Linked DNA regions of Homo sapiens: all the other regions are linked to region 4. The links are contacts of gene promoters, found by promoter capture Hi-C in human tissues and cell types (Jung and others, 2019). All regions are on one chromosome and are shown on one strand. The core of a region is centred on a gene start or on the middle of the fragment in contact, and the rest is flanking DNA. Distances in the headings are between cores, read along the strand shown.

Region 1 (3,080 bases), core at 513-3,012, 620 kb before region 4:
AAAACCCTTGTTTCGAGTTACTGATAGCAAGAAAATGACACTGACACTGGCAATTTAGAAAAGGCAAACTCAGAGGCTAAGTTTAGGCTAAGGAAATTACAGAGTACAAGAACACTTCTTCCGTCCTTTCCTTCCACAGGTTCCTCAAGCTGCCTCTCCCCACTGGCCTCCCACTTTGCCCTCAGTAGCTACAATTTGGCCAGAGAGTTCTCAAGCTAATTTCATACACAGACCAGTGAGCAAGAATCCCTGCTCCTTTTTTTTCTGAGTTCTTTGAATATTACTGTATTATATCCTCAGGATTTCTATTCATAGTTTGCCCTAGGGCTATTGTAACAAAGTACCACAAACTGAGTGGCTTAAACCACAGTAATATATTATCTCAGCTCTACAACTCAGAAGTTCAAAATCAAGGTGTTGATAGGGGTGGTTCCTTCTGAGGGTTGTGAGAAAATGTTCCAGGCTCTTCTTCTTGGCTTACAGATGGTTGTCTTCTCCATGAGTTTCTTCATATCATGTCTTCCTTCTATGCATGTTGTCTCTGTGTCCAAATTTCTCCTTTTTTATAAGAGGATAATCCTGGATTGGAGCTCACCCTAATTGCATCATTTGAACTTGATTACCTCTGGAAAGGCTCTATCCCCAAACGGGATCACATTCCTCTGTACTGGAGGTTAGGACTCCAAAATATCTTTCTTGGAGTATACAATTCAACCCATAACAAAACTATAAGCAGCTCTCTTTATTAGATGCTAAGAAAAAGTATGTGCAGCTAAGGTGACCATTAGTTCACTGAGCAAAGCAGATATTACCTTAGGATGTCAAAGGGGTGTTTGAAGACTGCATTACACTAATGCAAAAAACAGATTGAGAACTAACATGATGTTAAGTAACAAGTATAAATTTGGCAAAGAATAATGTAAAATTGCATAACTTTTGTTGTTTTGCTTCCATGTCCATGGACATTTGAACAAGTAAACTCAATACATTACAGCTTTTTGAAGGACAGACAGTCCATAATCTCTGACAATCTATAGTTCCTTTAAATGCCTCTCTGCCAGATAATTTAGGGCTCACAGAAAAGAGAGGTTAAGACCTATCACTTACCCCTGAAGTGTGACATTAGGCTTTAAATGTATTTCATCTCTGGATAAAAGATTGTTTAGTGCTTACTTTTTGAAGTATACATTAGCAACACAGGACCTAAGGATGGCATGTGAGATCATTTTAATTGCTAGAAGGGCCAGTCACTATTAGCTAAATGTCATCCCCCCTGAAAGAGTGGCCAAGCACAGTGCTCCCTGACTGGTAATTAGAATCTTGTTACCTCCTACCATTAAAATGAGGGGCTGAAACATTAGCACACCAGAGTGAATGAGGAGGGTAAATATGATTTGATGATCATGAAAATGAAAGCCAACTATTAAAGCAAGAGGAACAAGATATGAACGGATTGCATTTAGTGCCCACCTAGGTAAATAATGCTTTATCAGAGCAATGCTCCAAAAGGAGTGAAGGGTGCCTATCCACCCTTCTTTGACTTCCTGCATCTGCTTGGAGGATTCCTTTGACCTTTGTTTTTTACCCCCTTTCCCTCCTTCCAAAATTTACTTTTGTGACTGCTGTGGGTGTTTGGGTTCTTATTTTAATTTATTTTAAAGTTTGATTTAAATTTGGAACCTGCATAAGACTTTTGACATTTATTTCTGGGGGTGTTTTCTGAAGCTGGATGAAGTGGGTGTTGACTGACAGACAGGTTGCTATGGGAACAGCTGTCATTGCAGAGACTAAGGCTTTATTTCCTACTCTTCTTTTGTCAGGCAAAGGTTTGTGGGATATTTTAAAAATAGTATAAGTGCCCCAGAATTAATAGGAAATTGTTCAGTGACTCTTTTCTAACATACCTATCAAAACCTGCAATAGTTTTCATTCTGTACTGCTCTGTTCTGCATATGGATTCATAACTTTTTTCTTTAAAACAAGTGCTTTCCAATATGGCTTTCTCTCATTGGTTGTTTGCTCTCCACATTTCCCCTATGATACTGGTCCTCTATAAAATCATACAGGTAAGGAAATCAAAGTAATAAAAGGCATCCAACAGTCATCCCAAAGAAACATTCAACTAGTGTGACCATGGACTTGGGCGACCTATAAGCTCCATCCTGGTGCTTTATTTACTGGGCAACTTCTTCATCTTAGGATGTTAAAGAGGAAATTCAGGAGATGAGAAAATACATGCAAGTTAAAAGAGGAGCATATAAGTTATCTTAGACTTAAGTTGGGTTCAATTATTTTTATCTCTATTCATTTATTTATTCTCTACCTTTAGTAGCCTCTTGGAGATTTGAGTAGATGATTAAATAAGATGCAGGAGTTCTACATCAAATCCTAATCAGCCCCAAATCTTCTATTTCTCAGGTTGCTCATTCCACAGCGATTCATTACAGCTCCCAAACCAATTGAATTCTGAATACATTCCAAGCATCACTTAGAAAAATGACCAAAAAAAGCAGAAACCCCATTGAACAATCTGCTCTGAAAATAAAGAAGATCAACCCTTCTCTAAACTCAGCTTTCTATGAACCCGAATCCAATCATCTCTTTTCTTGACAACAGGTACCTCCCTATACTACTCCACATACCCACACAGTGCAGAACCCCATATAGGTTAGCTTCTGGATTTCTGAAAATAGTGCAGGGGCTGATTGTTTGCATTATTTTGTGTTTTTCTGGCTGCATTCAATTTCTACCATCTCTTCACTGGTCTTTCTTTGCTTCCTTTTACATGAATGTCCAATTTTGCATTTGTTAAGGGCCATCATCCAGACACTGCTGGAAAAGCAAAATTTCACCTTAATAATGTTTCAGATGTACACTACCTAAACAAGAATTAAACTCATAGTTTAGACAAAGTAAAATATATAAAACATAAATTTATTTCCTTGAAACTTGGCTCAAACTAGTATCTTTTCTTTCATCATTCCATTGGAGGAGGTTTATAGGGTTGTTTTTCTCTACACAGGAGCTCTAAGTGTTTATGTCATCCTGATACATGGAAATTTCCTTAATTAACTAAAATT
Region 2 (3,095 bases), core at 575-3,074, 890 kb before region 4:
TCTGCTTACTCAGTAAGATTGTTATGAAAACAAATAAGATAACATAAATCCAAGCTCACTGTGAATGATGCAAGTATAAGAAAATATTCGTCCTTACATACAGCCCACAAAAACTATCAGTGGCTTGTGTTAGATGCCAATCACTAAATGCAAGTGACTTCCAGACCTTCACTAGTTCTGCAGATGAGACATCACTTTTTTTTTTTTTTTTTTTTTGGTCATGCTAATACCCCAAAGCTCAACAGTGATCATAGGATGAGATAATCTGGTTCCACTTTGGAATCACCTGGAGACTTTTTAAAAGTACAGCTGCCTGGGTCTCACCCAGTGAAAATCTCTGAGGGTGGGGTCCATACAGTGGTATTTTTGGGATAAGATCTACTGGGGTTTCAAACTGCAGCCAACATTAAAAAGAAGGAAAAAGGTGAAGTTAACTGCTGAGGAAGGGGCTTAGGGTAAAGTGAAGACCATCTGTGGACTCCAGCTTTTGTAGTGACACAATGCTGAGAAACCAAATTTCCAGGGATCCATCAGTTTATGAAACTTTACTAAAATAAGTCCTATACTGCCAAGCAACTAAGGAGAAAAAAGTGAACCATAAAATGCTTATCAATGAAGAGCTGAGTATAATGTAAAAATCTATTCTAAATACTATGCTTCAGAGTAAAAACAGATGTGAAATGGTTAAACAAAATCTGTGGTATCATAAGGCAATAAAATTTAGTTGCTTTTCATTTTCTTCCTTATATTCTTATGTATTGTTTAGATAATTTTACAATGAATGCAGATTATTTATTTAACAGAAAATAACAGTCAAACAGAATGTAGTAAGGGGAAAAAGTGGATTAAGTAGGGGAAAAGTATGAAATGGTGAGACAGTAAAATAAATGCCAGAGCTGAGAAAGATGAAGCAGCGTGCACTTATAAACAAAAAAAATTCTAGGACTCTCAAAACACTGGCAGATTCCTGAATACATGCTAATGTTTCACTTCTCTCTGCCTAGCAAAATCTTACTTATCCTTTTTAAAAATTTTATTTGTTATTTATTTACTTATGAGACAGGGTCTCACTCTGTCACCCAGGCCTGTCACCCAAACTGGAGTGCAGTGGTGCAATCATAGCTTTCTGCAGCTTCAAACTTCTGGCCTGAAGTGATCTACCACCTTAGCCTCTCAAAGCACTGGGATTACAGGTATGTCCCACTGCAACCAGCCCCTACTTATCCTTAATACTTAGTTTACCTTGGAGCGGAGGTCAGGGGAGGCTCCCAGTAGAATAGAGACCTCAGCATCCCTCTATCATCTCAACTAACCAAATGCTATTAATGTTTTCTTCGTATTTATCTGATTCTCCCATGACTGTAAGCCTCTTGAGAGTAAAACTGCATCCTGTTTATCTTTATAAATAATCCCGACACTGAGAGACAAGTGCATAAAAGGTATCTCCAAAGATTCATTAAAGTGAAAAAAAAAAAAAAGTTCCCCAGCTGTGGGAAACAGGCAGAATAAGATGTGATATAAACATAGTTCTACATAAGCTATTTTTTAAATAAAAACAAAACAAAGACAACTCCTACACATAAACTATCTTCTGTGATCTTTTGGACTTTCTATTTGAGGTTAACAGTGAAGAGCTGCCAATGCTCATTGCTCAGTGGGTTTAACTGATAGGTGCTCTAAAAATGCAAATCATTTGATCGTCTGATGACTGGTATGTAGAGTTTATACCAGTAGTTCTCAAAGGAAAATATCAGTATTATCCAGGAACTGTTAGTGTAAATTCTCGGCCCTGCCACCCCAGAGAAACCCTGGGGATAGGATTCAGCAATCTGTGCTTTATCAAGTCCTCCAGGTGATTCTGATGCATGTTCGAGTTTGAGACCCACTGGTCTAAGCTAAAAGATTTAGAAGAAATGAAAACCCAGCTCACTGCTAACTCCTTCTCAAAATCTATTTTGCTAATATGGCTCTCCTATATGTGCCATGGAACCCAAACTCTGATGCGCAAATGTTTCAAAACAGACCAAGACACCTCTCAACTGTTAAAATTCCCACCTCCGACCCCTCAGGAGAATGAAATTTGAGATGCAAAGACGTCTCTTTCCTACAGTTTATCCTGCCAGACTCCTTCATTCCTCACTCTGTTCCCTGCAGATTGTCTTGTAAATGTGGCCAGAGACACATCTTCAGTCCTGAGTCTGACTGCTGACCTCGGCTATGTTAGCCCCTTTGCTGCTGAAGAACAGCCCCTTGGATCACTGACTTGCTATTATTCTATGCTTAATAGCCCCGACCTGTGCAATATTTTTTATCTGGCTACAGTCCTATCTCTAAATTCTCTATTTTGAATGAATACCAATTTTGTGACATGAAGTCTTCTATATAATGAAATGCAAACAATGAAAAGGCTAAATCAGTTTACAAAAAATCTATTTGTCAAACAGTGTGGAGATGTTCCCAATTTAGTCTGGGCAGTTCATGCAGCTCTTGATAAGGGAGTTAAAAACCTAGCTGTTCACAGAATGAAAATAAAGGCATCTGCACCACAGACACATTTTCCTTTCAAAAGTCTTTGTTGTAACTTGTAGCTAATTAAATGCCCTTACACAAGAGGTGCACACACACACAGCAAAATCAGAGAATAATTTTACAAGAGAGCCCCAGAGAAGAGGAGAGCACAACACAAGCTTCCCACTACCATCTCTTATATTGCATTTACATTTCTATACAGCTTCATCAGCCTGACAAAAAAAGCACAAGGGGAGGCCTTTTTTGTTCAATTTTGGACGAGAGAGATTTCTAAGCCCTGCAAAGGAACGTGCTTAACATTAAAAAAAAAAAGAAGAAAGAAAGAAAAAAAGAAAGAAATTGTAACCCTGCCTTAGATGCTTGTGGAGAAATAATGCTTTCTACACACCTTTCTATATCACCGACAGAGGAACTAAAAAATTATCAAGAACTTAAAGTGTTCCATTTTTTTATTTGTAGTGTTTTCCTCACTCCTAGAGATTATTTGCAGGCAGAGGTGCCCCTGTATTAAGCTTGACATTTATTGGAGTGGCTTTGAATTTACCATGTCACATTTATCAAAATGG
Region 3 (3,221 bases), core at 240-2,739, 910 kb before region 4:
TAAGTCCGCTCTATAATCCTGTAGTCAATGTTACATTTTAATCAGAGGTTGAAAGGGATTCATGTGATGAGCACACTCATTTAGAATGATTAGACTGACACATATGTCAAAATGAGCAGATATATTATTTTCATCTATTTATGCTATCAGCTATTACTGCTATTAAATGTGAAACAAGCTTTCAAGTATTATGTTCTTTAATGTGCTGGCACATTTCCTAAAATAAAAAAATACATAGTTAGAGGTTAACATTTTAAGCTCTCTTAATGGTGGTCAATAAATGGTATGAATCTTTTTAACAGCCTCCAAAGCAGAAACTGTCCAATATTTGCCCCTAAAACTGTATAACTCTGGTTTCATTTCTGTGTATACACACACGTGATGGGGTTTAACCCGGTACAATTACTATGAATATTAATAGCATGTATAAATTCTGTGGTTTATTAATTGAGACAGAGAGGCAGATGCGTTGCTTAGCGTTAGATCTTTCTGTCTGTCCAGTGAACCACGTAACCATCAGAACTGCATCCAGACAATAAATCTGTATTTTTTAAAGATGACTTTTAATTGAGCCCAAAAGAAAGCTAGTTTGAATCTTGCGCCAAAGCCAAAAGGACATGTGCCTTGACTTCATTTAAATGCATCTGCTTTAAGAGGCTTATCTAAACGAATTATTCAAATTAGCTATAAGAAGTTAAATTCAAGGAAACTACTTCAAAAAGAAGCCTCTGGGGGATTTTTAAAGTTTGTTTTCTTTATTTATTTACAAGAGAAAGTTCAGAATCTGGGCGTGCTTGGATAAGACATTCTTCCTGACACGAAGACGTCTTAAACTCTCCAATTCTACAGCCCGAAGTACACTAACCTTCAAACTACACTTGAGCGGGCAGTCTTACCTTTGTTTATTTTTCATTTTTATTTTTACACATCTTAAGGTTGTTTCTTCCCTTGAGTGTTTCAAACTGATGCAAGCACAGCCTTATAATCTTTCAGTTCCTCCTAAATCCATCTCTTGGCTAATATTCCCTGTGTGAGCATGGATGTGGGTGGATGTGCATGTGTGAGCGTGCATACACACACACACTCACACTCACGCTCAAACATACAGGAGCAGCCACTGAGACTGCAAGTCACTTTTCATCTCTTACTTAATTACAAAGCAATGCAATATGCAGTCACTAAGGACAGCTAGTGGACATCTACCTATAATGCACTACCTCATCTTCTAGAGTTTGATATTTTCTTCACAATCTATAGAGAGAAATGTTTGCCAAGGGCACTCTTTTCAGAATTATAACAGTTGGTATTACTGTAATGTGAAAGCAAAGCAATATAACTGACTCAACAGAAAGGGAGATAAACCAGTGACAGCTCTCGTGATATACTAACATTTTATCTTAACAGTAGGTTGAAATTAAGTTTATCACCTACTCATTTACACAAAAATGCCTAACTTACTTCTCGTACCCCCTACTCACTCCCCCCCCTTTAGTAATCTAAATATATATTTCCATGTGCATAAAGATATCCATAAATACTAATTAAACTGCTTGTAAGAACGAAAGTACTTTTCTATATTTTCTGGACACAACAAACGAGACAAATCCACACTCTGAGCAGTATTTAAGGGGAAAATTTTAAAGTCACTACTGTTTCTTCTTTAGTTTTTTTTCCCCCCTTAAATATTTATAATGTGTGAAAATCTCATGTTACTTAATGGACTGATTTGTCAGTTAAGTGCTGACTTAACGCTAACCATGCAAATAACATTATTCTAGCTCAGAATTGCATAGGGCTAGCTTTTAAATTGTTCTCTGAAGGAGAATTAGTAAATGTGCAATTTTGCCTCTAACTCTGCGCGGTAAGAAATGACAAGGAGCTGAAAATATCTGTCAAACTGCAAATACATAAGAGGCCCTCAATAGTATAAATCATTTTGAATATTGTATTTTAAAACATCTTTCCTTGGGAAAATGGGTCCTAGTAAAAGATGCATTTTAACAGTTCACTAAGCATTTGTGCCAAGTGCCTATTCTTAGCACCTGAATAAGAAGTGACTGTCACACAGCTGTTTTACTGACAGTCACTGAGCTTTGCCTCAAAGGTAACATTGTAGTCAGAGAACAATTCTCGACTTACTGAATTAGGAGATCACCCTCAACACAAAAGACACAAGACAGACACAAACAAGCAGTCGTGCACACAAAATACCCAGGGCATTACCTGAATCAGTGTGTAAAGATATAGTCTGTCCGCCCCCACCCCCGCACCCCCACGACGAGTTTAAAAAGGAAAGAAAAAAGGTACCTACTCTTCCTCGTAGTGCAGGGAAAAAGATTCAGGAAGGCAAAGTTCTACCGAATCCATGTGCGACCGGCAACCATTATTTGTGCACCCCAGCTATAAATCAAAGTTTCCTTGACAGAGCACAGTGCAATTAACACAAATGTTCTCCTAGTGACAAGCCTATAGGCACAGCCAGTTGGGACCAAAGCTCTCACACTCTCCTAATCAAGGACTTAAAGCCCCGATTGGAGCTTATTAATATGAAGTAGGGCTTTACATATGCAGTCCCACCGGCCCAGCCGCGCAGCCGATTGGGGGGCCTCTGCCCAATCAGGAGGGAGGCGACGGGAGGCTGCACGGAGCGAGAGGAGCCAGGCAGGTAGGCAGGGTGCAGAGAGCCGAAGGGGGCTGGAAACTGAGAGTGGGCAGAGAAAAAGGGAGCGGAGAAGGGAGCGATTGAAACGCTCCCAATACACACTCTCGGGTTTGATTTTTTTTCCTCCCTTCTCTCTCTTTCTTTTTTTTTTCTTCTGGGAAGCTACAAAAGAAACATAACTAACTTAACTCTCTAAGCACTGGAGGGATTTGCCTTTGATTTCTAACCTAAGATCTCTTTTGCCTTGAAAAGGAGAACTCACGCAGACTCTCAGTTAATTTGGGAAAGGATTCTGCGGAAGGTAGAGAATTAAGTTTGTCCTGCCGTTGTCTGTGTTTTTATTACACCGGGGGCCGCGGCTTATTTGGTGCTGTACTTTCTCATGTATTCCTAATCATGTCTTTTCCTGTTTTCCTGATGTATGCTGGGCATTAAAAATAATAATAATAAAGGCATTCTTCTAAATTGTTTGAGCATGTGAACTGGGATCGTCATCTCTGAGGTGGAATGCAGTTTTACACAACTACAGAAGAGGAGATAGTGACAATACAATTTGAAA
Region 4 (3,359 bases), core at 472-2,971:
GAAATGGTGAGTTGTATGACAAGCGAGCCTTTAAAGAGAATTGAAGGAGGTTTCTCTCAGTACCTAACCATGATTTTAAAGGTAAAAGAAGTTGAGAGAATCAATCACATTCTGATGTAGTCACCTACCCTACAAATCAATAGCACCCTAGGAAGAGCAGACCAATCTACATAGGACATTTTGTCTCCCTGACTTAACCAAGATAATGAACAGTGAAACATTAAGACAGGTATCCTTGAGAGGGAACTGTGGGGTGATGGACAAATCCATTATCTTGTTTTGTGTGGTGTTTACATAAGTATATGCAATTGCCAAAACTAATAAAATTAAGCCTGTAAAAATTGTGCATTTCATTCTATGCTAGTTATACCATTAAAAACTGGTTCATTTAAAAAATGCTCCCTACTTTTCTCACTGGAAAATGTAATAATTTACAAATAGTATAATCAAATCTATATTCACTATAAAATTAACTACAGGATGATCAGGTCCAACTAGAAATATTTTGGATAAGGTATTCTTTTAACTTTTCAGTGATAGGTGATGGAAAAGCAATTATCTGAGATCACAGACTACTAGAATTCCTCATGTTCTAATTTTTGCAGAATCTAGGAATGAACACGCACCATTTAGCCACATTTCTTTCACCTGTTGGTCAGAACTTTATGTTTGAGGATTTTCAATGGGAAATTGCTTGTTTGTGTCACTGGTTGTCTTATGTTATGTTTGGAGGAAAAGGGCTTGGGAGAAAAACAGGACAGATAATACAGAGTGTTCAACTAGAAATCCCCAAATCAGGATTCTAGCTCTAGGATTAAAATGTACAGGGCAACTTTGGACACGGTACTTGAATTTTCTGTGCTTGTGATATTCTGCTATCACAAGGCTGTCATAGGATAAAGTGTATTAATTTGTGGAAATACTTTGAAAAGTCAAAGCAATATATTATTCTAACATGATACCATAGACATAGTCAAGCCCCAAACTTAATCCTGACAGTTATAGGTTCTTGGAAAGCCCCCATACATATCTCACTTTAACTTGAATAGAATGTTCAAGAGGGTGGAAACAGGTAGGTTACCCTCTCTCTTTAAAAAAGGGGGTGAGAGGGTGATGTGTTTTCCACGATTGAACTTCCAGAACTCTAGATTTCTGGAATTTATCTTCCAAAAGACTTGGTATAATCTGGTAAATATTGAAAGAGGAGTGGGGAATAAGGCCCGGATTAAGATAAATTCTTCCTGTCCCTAGTGTTGTCAACAATCAATGAGGAGATGAATTGCTCCTGGAGTACAGGAAGCTTGACTTCTAAAATATTGTTAAACAAGCAATCAGAAAACATTTACTGTATTCTTTCACAAATCTTTGGCACACACCCAAGAGCTCCCTCAAACTGCGTGCATCCCAGGAATGAGTGAGAGCAAGGCCTAGATGTCTTCAGATCATCCATCACAGCTCCCTCCCGCCTCCATTCCAGGTCCAGCGGAGCGGCCTCGGGCAATCACACCCTTCCCTGACCTCCCCCTCCCCAGGGCCGCCAGCCTCACCAGCTGTTCCCGGCTGCTGGAGCTCCGATCGGTTGGCGCCCGGCGGCCCCGAACATTAACGACACCCGGGAGCCTGGCCTCGAAGCTCAGGCCCGTGAACAGACTCCAACTACAACAGCACCGGCGACTTCCAAAGAGCAGTTCAGCATTTTGAGATGAGCTTCCGGAAGCCGACAGGCGGCGGAAACCGGATGCCCGGAGCAACCATTAGTTCTCCGCGTTTACTGCTTTCCCCTTCCTATAATCCCCTCTTCCTACTCGCAGTAGAGACAGAGACAAATAAATTAAACTTTTGTGCTACACAGAAATTTCTTAATTCTCTTTTTAGTGCTCTTAAAGTCAAAGCAGCATGAGAGAAAAGAGGAGTGAACAAAAAGTCGAACCCCGGGAGTGAGCTATGGTTTAGCCCAGTTACCATGGAGACCGGTAGTAACACCAGTTGTAAACCCAAGGCCAAGAGACCATGGCCACGTTAGCCCGGCTGCAAGCTAGGTCGTCGACTGTAGGAAATCAGTACTACTTTAGGAACAGGTAAGTCAGGAAGAGAAGGATCGCGTAAAGGGCGGGCGTGACTTTATACCAGTTGTTCCTCAGCGGGAGTTTCCAATTAACGATTTAACGATTACCCTAATTCATTAAGTAGTACCCAATTCTTCCCTTAATGGGCTGCAAACATAATTGGGAGTTTCTGTTACCATACAACGAAATTCTAAATAGAGAGGGGCCGTAGATATTCAGTGTGAGATGATTTAAGGAAACTCCCAGCATAGATAAAATTGTAAAGTGCTTTTTTTCTTCGACATCACCACTCTGCAATTTGATGAAACCTATGTTCAATACCCTGACTGGGGGTCACCCTGACTCACTAGCCCAATGAACTCAGATTGTGTCCCATCTACCTAGGGATTTGAGCCTCCGTTATTTTACAAACATCACTAAACTCAATTGTTCTATGACTCATTCGCCTTTTTAAAATGAACGTATCTGCCGGGTGTGGTGGCTCACGCCTGTAATCCCAGCACTTTGGGAGGCCGAGGGGGGCGAATCACCTGAGGCCAGGAGTTCTAGACCAACCAGGACAACATGGTGAAACCCCGTCTCTATTAAAAATACAAAAACTAGCCGGGCATGGTGGCACATGCCTGTCATCCCAGCTAGTCCGGAGGCTGAGGCAGGAGAATCGCTTGAACCTGGGAGGCAGAGGTTGCAGTGACCCGACATTGTACCACTGCACTCCAGCCTGGGTGACAAATTAAGACCCTGTCTCAATAAATAAATAAATAAATATAAATAAAATAAAATAAAATGAAAGTGTCTAAACCATTCTGACACGGTAACTAGTACCAATATATTAATTAATAGATAACGGGTAAGAAAACCACTAGCAGTCTTCTTCATCTCCCTACAGCCAAACTTCTTGCCCAGGAAGAGTTTCATTTTAAAGAAGCATTGCCCCAGGAGTTTTTGTAACTTAAAAGAAACTGCAAAAAAGTGAATTAGACTATTATGGAATACAGTGACATGACAGACCAATGGAAAATATGTCAATGAGATAGGGTCTTGCTGAGCTGCTTTTATTCTAACGTTTATCTCACCTACTACATCATTATTTCACAACGTACCTCTCTTACAGCACTGATCACAATTCAATTTTACATTCTTTTATGAGATAATATCTATCTCCCCTCTTAAACTAGTAGCAGAGACAGTGTCTCTTATTTTGCTCACCATTATTTTTGTCTCCAACGTCTATGATAGCCCCATACAAATAATAGTAACACAATAATTGTTGAAGACTCACATTAATGAATT

What was found. Contacts are between HindIII fragments. The study calls those that stand out against the background at their distance.
Region 1: a contact is called between a fragment that was not itself captured here and the fragment with the promoter of GPATCH2 in region 4, in 1 of the 25 tissues and cell types used here (bladder).
Region 2: a fragment that was not itself captured here is called in contact with the fragment with the promoter of GPATCH2 in region 4 in 1 of the 25 tissues and cell types used here (mesenchymal stem cells).
Region 3: a fragment that was not itself captured here is called in contact with the fragment with the promoter of GPATCH2 in region 4 in 1 of the 25 tissues and cell types used here (IMR-90 fibroblasts).

Annotation. Positions count from the first base shown.
Region 1 is chr1:217,012,502-217,015,581 of GRCh38, forward strand. It overlaps a transcript of ESRRG not described here. Among named protein-coding and RNA genes, the nearest start is that of ESRRG, 290 kb to the left of the region's middle. The HindIII fragment of the contact is 7,901 bases long and covers 1-3,080 here.
Region 2 is chr1:216,737,801-216,740,895 of GRCh38, forward strand. It overlaps a transcript of ESRRG not described here. Among named protein-coding and RNA genes, the nearest start is that of ESRRG, 16 kb to the left of the region's middle. RefSeq lists an enhancer at 2,426-2,993. The HindIII fragment of the contact is 3,332 bases long and covers 159-3,095 here.
Region 3 is chr1:216,720,933-216,724,153 of GRCh38, forward strand. It overlaps ESRRG (estrogen related receptor gamma), which reads right to left and starts at 2,497. Exons shown (of 7, transcript NM_001438.4): 1 at 2,312-2,497. The coding sequence starts at 2,367. The HindIII fragment of the contact is 4,903 bases long and covers 1-3,221 here.
Region 4 is chr1:217,629,369-217,632,727 of GRCh38, forward strand. GPATCH2 (G-patch domain containing 2) reads right to left here and starts at 1,722. Exons shown (of 10, transcript NM_018040.5): 1 at 1,548-1,722. The coding sequence starts at 1,603. It overlaps SPATA17 (spermatogenesis associated 17), which reads left to right and starts at 1,976. Exons shown (of 11, transcript NM_138796.4): 1 at 1,976-2,078. The coding sequence starts at 2,011. RefSeq lists enhancers at 1,661-1,730, 1,761-2,000. The HindIII fragment of the contact is 13,029 bases long and covers 1-3,359 here.